Linked DNA regions of Homo sapiens: region 2 is linked to region 1. Evidence: promoter capture Hi-C in human tissues and cell types (Jung and others, 2019). All regions are on one chromosome and are shown on one strand. Each heading gives the region's core, a stretch centred on a gene start or on the middle of the fragment in contact. The rest is flanking DNA. Distances are from core to core; before and after follow the strand shown.

What was found. Contacts are between HindIII fragments. The study calls those that stand out against the background at their distance.
Region 2: a fragment that was not itself captured here is called in contact with the fragment with the promoter of IRF6 in region 1 in 1 of the 25 tissues and cell types used here (H1 embryonic stem cells).

Annotation. Positions count from the first base shown.
Region 1 is chr1:209,803,595-209,808,010 of GRCh38, reverse strand. IRF6 (interferon regulatory factor 6) reads left to right here and starts at 1,869. Exons shown (of 9, transcript NM_006147.4): 1 at 1,869-2,064. RefSeq lists a silencer at 1,604-1,947. The HindIII fragment of the contact is 7,591 bases long and covers 1-4,416 here.
Region 2 is chr1:210,384,484-210,388,899 of GRCh38, reverse strand. It overlaps HHAT (hedgehog acyltransferase), which reads right to left. Exons shown (of 12, transcript NM_018194.6): 4 at 1,319-1,432. Among named protein-coding and RNA genes, the nearest start is that of HHAT, 58 kb to the right of the region's middle. The HindIII fragment of the contact is 5,842 bases long and covers 1-4,416 here.

The DNA.
Region 1 (4,416 bases), core at 620-3,119:
GGTCTGAGGGATGTGAAAAAAAAAAAAAAAAAAAGAGCTCTATTCCAGGTATCTCTCCTTGGGTTGCAGCTAGCTGTCTTCTCTTTATGTCTCTTCATATCACCTTCCCTCTGTGGGTATCTGCCTCTGTGTCCAAATCTCCTCCTTTTATAAGGACACCATTCATATTGGATTCAGGCTCACCCTAATAACCACGTTTTAACTTGATTACCTCCATAAGGATCCTGTCTCCCAATAAGGTCATATTCTGACATCTGGCTGTGGTTGCAGTGGGGGTGGTCAGGACTTCAAAATACAAATACAAATTTTTTTGTATGTGGGTGACAGTTCAACTCATTGTACCACTCCTCCACAGTTTCTCACTCATTACTTTAAACACCAAAACCTAAGTGACCTGCGCATGCCCCATTTCACCTACGACAGCTCAGTGGTTGAGGGTGGGGGATTTTTAAAAGTCTCATTTACTGTTGCACAGCCTCCTGCAAACCGGTCCTCTAGATAGATGAGGAAGGTGAGGGCAATCTCATCAAGCACCTGTTAGGGTACATGCAGGACTTGAATTTCAGGTAATAACAAGGAATGCCTTCTTGTTCTCTGACGCACTGTCTATATGGTATTTTTAATCTTTATGCCAATAATAATTGCAAGTACATATAAAGCACTTGATAAGTGCTAAATATTGTTGCAAGCAGTTTACATGTAGTTATTGAATTCCCACAATACCCCTGAGGTAGGTACTATTACTAACCTCTTTCTACAGATAAGACACCAGGGCCTAAAAAGCTTAAGAAACTTTCCCAAGTCTGTAGTAACTGATGGAGTTGGGGTCTAAACCCCAATAGTTGGCTCCAGAGGCTATGCTTTTACTCATTACACGATAGTGATCAGAGGAAGCAGGAACTCCAGTCTGGGCAACATAGTCAGACCCTGTCTCTAAAAAAAAAAAAAAAAAATTAGCCGGGCATGGTGACCCATGCCTATATTTCCAGTTACTTGGGAGGGTGAGGTGGGATAATTGCTTGAGCCCAGGAGGTTGAGCTATGATTGTGCCACTGCATTCTAGCCTGGATGACAGAGCCAGACCCTGCCTAAAAAAAAAAAAAAAAAAAAAAAAAGGAATTGAACTGGGTGCCAGTGCCTGTAATCCCAGCACTTTGCGAGGCTGAGGCGGATCCCTTGAGCCCAGGTGTTGCAGACCAGACTGTGTAACTTAATAGCAAGACCCCATCTCCAAAAAAAAAAAAAAAAAAAAAGGAAGAAAAAAGAAAGAGAAAAAAGCAAACAACAACAAAAAAGAAGGAAGGAATTATTATTCTCATTGAAGAGATGAGGAAACTGAAACCAAGAAGCCAAGAAGCTAAGTAACTTACCCAGGGTCACACGGGTAAGAGGCAGAGTAAAGGTAGAATTCTAGTCCTGAAAGCCTATGGCTTCTCCCAGACAGGACCAAGTGTCCTGGTTCTCTTCTTCATGTGCAACTCCACTTACACAGGCCCACGAGTAGTAGGGCCAACCCAGAATCTCAAAACCCTTATTTGTGCTTAACTGTCTGCATACTGCAGGGTAATTATGGGCCGTGAAGGAGGGAGGCACCCTCTCGACTTAGATCTGAACTCCCAGTCGCTTCCAGTTCCCAGGACCACCAGCCCTGAGCCGTAAGGCTAGGCCTGAATCTGGGACTTTCTTAGCCGGAGTTAGAAGCGGAGGAGTAGGGTGGGACGCTGGACGGACGCCGCTGGGCCGGGCAGCCCAGAAACGCGGAGTGTCATATTTCTTGCAACTCGCCAATCCCGAACGCCGGGGGGCGTGGCCACACCTGGGAGGCGTGGCCGGGCGGATGCGAAGGCTGCGGCGTCCTGGGGCGAGGCGCTGACGTGAGCTCGGCGCACCTGGGCTGGGCAGGTAAGGGCTGGTGCGGGACGGGGAGAGGAACCTGCAGTCCCTACTTGGGTAGAGCCAGGCGCCCCTTGGCTAAGACGTCGAGGAGCGTGGTAGCGACGGGTGATCTTCGCTGCGGACTTGGTTCGGAGGGACGTCCGCTTCTGGTGGACAGATTGAGCAAAGGTGGGTACGCCAACTTCTGGGGACCAGCTTGAGGGAGGAGAGGCTCCCCCGTGGGTGGGGTAGGACCCATCCCCGGAGTTTGTAGGGGGTGAGAGAACTTGCTTGGGGGCATCTGTGTGTTTGGGGTGGGTACCCACTGGGGCTGGGTGCCTGTCGCCCTTTTCCAGATAGCTTTGGGGCGGCCTCAGTTCTGTAGCGCTAGGCCCCTCTCGAATCTACACTTGTGTCTACTCTCCCTACCCCCACCGCCGAAGCGGAGGGCACTGCTCTCGGCCGTCAACAACCCCACTATCCGGTAGAGCTAAAGCACCGCGCCCCCTTCAGTCTTACCAACTTGCGGCTGGCCCCTGTGTCCCAGAGAGGGGACTTCCCAGGTCCGCAGGTCCTTGATCCTAGTGGGCGTTTTGGGAAACTGGAGTGAGGGTGGCCAGGAGCTTTGGAGCATTGGCGGTTTGTCTTCCCTCCCTGAGTCTGTTTGGCACAGTTAGGCCCTTCGCCCTGGGCCTGGGAGACAACCTTGGATTTCCAAGGAGCGGAGCTAGGTGCTGGGGAGGGTGGCGCTGGGGTGTGGTTGCTCTGGGGGTGGGCCCTCTTTGCCCGAAGGGGCTGGAGGGTGGTGTGGAGAATGGGGAAAGTCTCCCAGGCCTGACTTGGAAAGGAGGCCTGAGGTGTCACTCTTTACAGGGAGCCTGCTTTGTGGTAAAGGGGTCATCCTGTTCCAACCTGTTCTCTTGGTGGATGTCAAGAGTGGAAGTCAGGGAAAAGAGATGGATAGAGAGAGGAAGGCGCTTGGGTGGGATTGGTGAAAGCTGGTGTTGACCCAGGAGTGTGGTTTAGGATGAGACGTGTGTATGATGTATGACAGTGGCACTCAATACCTTGTAACTCCCATTCGCCATCCCCCAGCTTCCATCCAGCAGAAGGGAAGGGTGTGGGCATTTTGACTAGAGGCCTGCAGTTTACCCCTAAGCAGGGCTAAACAGGGAAGCCTGAGGAACGGAACTTAGACGATGGCATTTCATTTCTTTCAGGAGAAAGGGAAGAGCTGGGACTGCTAAGAATTGTCTGCGAGAAATGGCGTGTGTTTTAACCTGAGCAAAACCACTGACGGCCAAATCTCGGCTTTTGTGTGGCAGTGCCCCTGGAAACTAGTCTGGGGAGGAGCTATGGAGGTGGCAATGAGGGTGTTTATGGAGGACCTGCTCCCTAGAATAGGGGTATGGGAGAGGACAGTTATGCTCGGAGGAGGCTGAAAGTGTCCCTCCTCTATGCTCACTGTGAGGGGAATAGATAGGTTAGCATCATTGTCCTTTGGCTGTTTAAGTACCTGTTAGAGACACAGGCCTTACATTTTGCTGTGATGGCAGCTAGAGATACCAAGATGAGTTCAACTAGGCTAAGGTGGTTCTTCAGGCGTTGGGATTTGGGTGGCAAGAGTGTTTAGAAAGAGAACTCTGATTTAGGTGTGTTTGAGAGTGGATGTTATGCAGTCTCCACCTCAATCACTTTATTGGCCCTCTATGCTGCTGGGATCTTTGTTGATGTTTTTAGTTTACTTTCTTGGTGCGCAGAAGATGAGAGGGACATGGAAGACAAGGTGCAGTGGCAGGGTTTGGTACAGAACACTGTGACTTAGGAAATAAAGCACCTCAGCCCAGATGTAAAATGGGGATAGTAATATCACATTCAGGTTTATGAGGATGAAATCAGACATGTTAGGTAAAGGTTCATGTAAAAATTGTAAAGCCTACACAGATACAAAGGATTGTTGTTACCATCCTTCATAAGAAATGTCTTATTGTCCTGAGGTTAAGAAAAAATTACTTGTAGTTTTTTAAATTATAAATTGAAACATATCATTGTAGGAAAATATGAATCATATATAATGTATATGGGAGAATGTAAAAAGCACCCATAGTTGCATCACTAGATAACCATTACAAATATTTTGTTGCATTGTTGTATTTATTTCCTTTTTTCAGTTCTGTGTGTATGTGCACATGTATGCAAGTATATGCTGTGTTACAAGATGGAGATAGTGCTACACAGTCAAGTTGTATGCTGTTTCCCCCTGCCCCCACAACTTCATATTGTAAACATTTCCTTGAGTATAATACAAATTCTGACACCTGTTGTTAATGGCTACTTAATATTGCAGCCTGTGGTTGTGACGTAATGAATGTTTCTGTCTTGGCCATTTGGGTTTTCAATTGTTCCATCTCTGCCTGTTTTTAGACTTGTAGTTACTGGGTGGTGAGTGGGGGAGATCTTGGCTGACTTTCAGAAGGTGGAGAGGGTTTACAGTGAGAGAGGCAGGGCATGGGCTTGGAGGAGGGCAGGCTGGGGCTCCTT
Region 2 (4,416 bases), core at 1,146-3,645, 580 kb before region 1:
AAAGAAAAACAGGTATGAAGCTATTTATTTTACATACGGGAAAACTGAGACTTATGGTAATAAGTCATTTACACATGGATGGGAAAACTTTGTTACGAATTAAAATGTTAAATTTCCAGAAGTTTTGAATTCTTGGGGAAAAAAAAACTAAACAGAAATTTGTGGGAGTAAAGAAAACCATTAATGAGGGCTGAGGTAGATATATTTATTACTAGCTTAGGAACAAAAAAAATTATTATTAGGTCTGCTCACAAAGTTAAATGAAATTTTAAAATATACTCAGATCTGACAACATCTAATATTTTGGATTTTGCCAGTTCAGCAGCCACTTGAGTACAAAAAAAAAATCAGTATCATATTCAAGAAGAAGTTAATATGCTGTCGGGATTTCCTATCTTCCAGGGTGAGGAGCAAGCCCAGGAAACGCCAATTTTCAGGAAAGAGTCAGAAACTGGCCCAAGTTAGGTGCGCATCTCTAACCACAGGACATCCTATTTCTGCATCTCACTTTCTGGTCTCAATCTCCAGAGGTTTCTGTTTCTCTTCTACTTCAGTTTTATCACCTGCGGGAACCTCTGAGAATCAAAACATTTTTCCTAGGTTGACTTCCAAATCAGGTTTTGGTTGTGTCTTGCTTTTATTCGGTAAATTTCCAAGCACAGACTTTTTCCTCCATCAGGAATCTATAGCAAGCAAGAAGTATTTATCAGAGGCCTCTGGGCAATACCCTGGCCCCCAGGTGACAGAAAGATCCTCCTGGCAGTATATCAGGTCCCTTGGTAGCTAGACCTGTGAAGAGGGTCTCAATCCTGCCTCACATAAAAGTAGTTTTCAAATAACCACTTTGAAGAATCTCTCATCCTCTAAGCCAGCCCAAGGCAAGAGCAAAATGCTACTGGACTTCCCATCTAAAACAGTGACAGCAGCATAAACTACTTGACTTTAAAATTATTCCCACTTCTTAAGTAAATCATCAACTTTCTTCTGAATTTGCAAGTGAACTCATCCAGATTCTCAACCACAGGCAACTTTTTGATCATTTGATTAGAAGTGATCTTAAAGACCACCACCACCCTCCATGGTTAGTTTTACACTACAACCTTTATATTCAATGCCTGAAAATAAGTTGGAGAAAGCAAGTGCAGGATATGAACTATGAACTTTTATCTTAAATGTTATATTGATTGTTAACAACTTTATCATTTTTTCCAGGCTCCCAGTGCTAATATCCAAGTCTTCCGATTCCTAGCTTGGACTCTTTCTTCACAAGAAGCAAAGGAAAAACACACTTAAAAGGTAACAACACATATAATCATACCTTTCTTGCCAGCAGTGTGGCCATTTGAGACACTACCATGTGGCCAAGGAGAAGCCACACCAGCCACTGCTTCCCCCATTCCATCCAGAAGCTCCACTCAAAGTCGGTCGCATCCTAAATAGGACAAAATAGTTTATCAGAGGGATTTCAGTACACGTCTGAGTCAGAACACAAACTCCAGTTAATAAAACTGGAAAGAAGGCCAGTGTGAGTCCAAACTCTGTAAAAGAGGATTTACACACTTCTAGCCTTTCCCCACCCACCTGTACACTCCCCTCCAGCTTGCTATTAGTAATGGCAAAAACTGCAATTACTTTTGCACCAACCTAACCGGAATGATTGCCATTGCCATTCCCCAAATGCACCTCGGACTTTCTACAACTCAGTGTCTTTGTTACAGCTGATCTCCCAGGGCCCTCTGTAGTATAGATGCTATTATTATTTCCATTTTGCAAAACATGAAACAGAGACGTAAGGAACTCAATTCATTTACCCAAGTTCACAGGGATAGTACAAGTAATGAATTGAGGCTATCCCAGTTTAGACAACTAGATATTTTCACTGAGAAATGTAAACTGGACACTAATAAAATGGCTTAAAGTCAGTTATTCTGAGTCTTGTTGCCATTTACAGACAGAATAATTTGTCAGAGAAATTAACTAAGTTCATATAAATTTATAATGAAGGAATGAAAGGTACACTTCCCTTCCCCCCAAGAAGCTCTGTGTCCATGTGGCATTCTGTGTCTGCATCAGTACCAGGTTCCACATCTATGAAGCTCCCCAGGAGGAGAAGGTAGAAACCTCTGACAACAGTGGACATGTGGACGCTTAGGAACCAGCACCTCAAAGTCATGGCCTCAGGAGCCCCAGAAAGGACCACGGAGGCCAAGAGGAGCGTGGAGAGATGCACACTGTCATCGGTCACCCTGAAACAGGCAATGCAGGCTTGGCCAGTGAACAGTTCAGCACTACCAGGATGGAGGGGGATTTGAGGTCTCAGAATTTTCTAAGCAAAATGTGTGCCTGGAAAAGGACTCCTGCAGGCCGGGCGCGGTGGCTCACGCCTGTAATCCCAGCACTTTGGGAGGCCGAGGCGGGCGGATCACGAGGTCAGGAGATCGAGACCATCCCGGCTAAAACGGTGAAACCCCGTCTCTACTAAAAATACAAAAAATTAGCCGGGCGTAGTGGCGGGCGCCTGTAGTCCCAGCTACTTGGGAGGCTGAGGCAGGAGAATGGCGTGAACCCGGGAGGCGGAGCTTGCAGTGAGCCGAAATCCCGCCACTGCACTCCAGCCTGGGCGACAGAGCGAGACTCTGTCTCAAAAAAAAAAAAAAAAAAAAAAAAAAGAAAAAAAGAAAAGGACTCCTGCAATGACCACTGATATTGAACTCCTCACCAATCTCTGCAAGTGGAACTTGAAGCCTCTCTTAATTGGATTTGAAGAAAAGTGTGATTTTTTTGGTGTACCTAAGATTGTGGGGTAATGTCATACCAGTTGCACACAAATAAAACTCTTTTTTGCAGAAGGTAAGATACATATAAAATTGATCTTGATTCATAACAGACTATGAGTGCAAGGTAGCTAAGACTGGAGGCTTGTTTTGGGTCCAGAGCCCAGATCTACTCACACACTTGCTGTGATGACCTTGAACATGATTCTTAACCTTTCTGTTCTGTTTCTTCATATGACAATAGTACTTACCTTACAGGGATTTTTGAGGCTTAAATAAGAGCATATGTACATTAAAAGTTTGTAGCAGCACACAGTGCTATTAAACAGCAGTACCCGCTACTAACTGCTAGACCCATGTGCTTCCCATCCCTTGTAAACCACCAGCCAAGACCGTATCATGCTTTACTTTGTGCCACTCATTTTAAAAAAGTTTTCCCATTTCTTCAAATAAGGAAATACAATACTGCGCATTCTCAGATTACACATGCTCCCCACACCCCAGATCCTGATACATGACCTGCTCATAAAGCCCCTGTCCCTTGCTGGAAATCATGTATGTAGTTGAATTGCTTCCATTTAGAGATGACTACACCAGAGTCTGGGACATGCCCACAAACACACAGCCAGGCAGCACAGCAGAGAACTCAAAGCTTTAACCTGGCTCCTGATCCCTGATCCACAGCTTATTTCCCCATCTAGAGATTTCCAAATTAGCCAAGAGTCAATTAACTAAACAAATGTAAATAAGTTCAAAGGTCATGTGATGAGGCCATGCTAGTAAAATACCACTTTTATAACAGGGATACAGCTAAAAGACACAAAAGCCAAGACACTTTTTTAATACAAACTCAAAAAGAAAAAAAAAAAAAAAGAAAAACATATGAGCTTTTTAAATACAACATTTTTGAACACTTAGAATTACATTTAGAATTCATGACCCCAAGCTTACCTATGCCTCGAAACTTCTCCAAGTTTAATTTTTTAGGGTGGAAAAAAGGATATAATACAACAAAACATATAAGACTTTCTGTTCCACCAGAAAGTCCAGGACTCCTGAAAACTCTGCTGGTAAAATCCCATCAACAAAAATTACACATGGCCTTTCACCTCTAATTATCACAGAAAACATTCATTTAAAGGAAATAAAAATGTCTCTCTCATGTCTATTCTTCCCTATTTAAAAAAGTTACCTAAGGGAAATGACCAAACAGAAAAGCTGGGCCAATGAATAGGTCAAGATGATGTTTAATGATTTGGGTAAGAAAAATATTGACTCACTGCTTCTTGAAGCAAAAGCTTTATAGACTCTGAGCTCAGTCACACATTTCAAGGCAAACATGAAAGCCTGAAATCAGGAACAACATCATGATCTGTCCCTTCCCCCATTTTCTTTCTTGCCTCCATGGTTATTAGTCAATTAGGAACCTCTTCTTTGGCACTCTAAGGGGGTCAGATATAAACTGGAGCTAAATCTCAGCCAGGCAGAACTAGGCAGGCTTCTCCATGGAAGCAGGGAGGCTGTACTCCAAGGAGAAGTCACCCACATCCAACCTCAAAGTGGACACAAGCCACCTATGCATCTTGCTAAAATGCAGATTCTGATGCAGTCAATCAAGGGTGGGGCCTGGGATTCTATATTT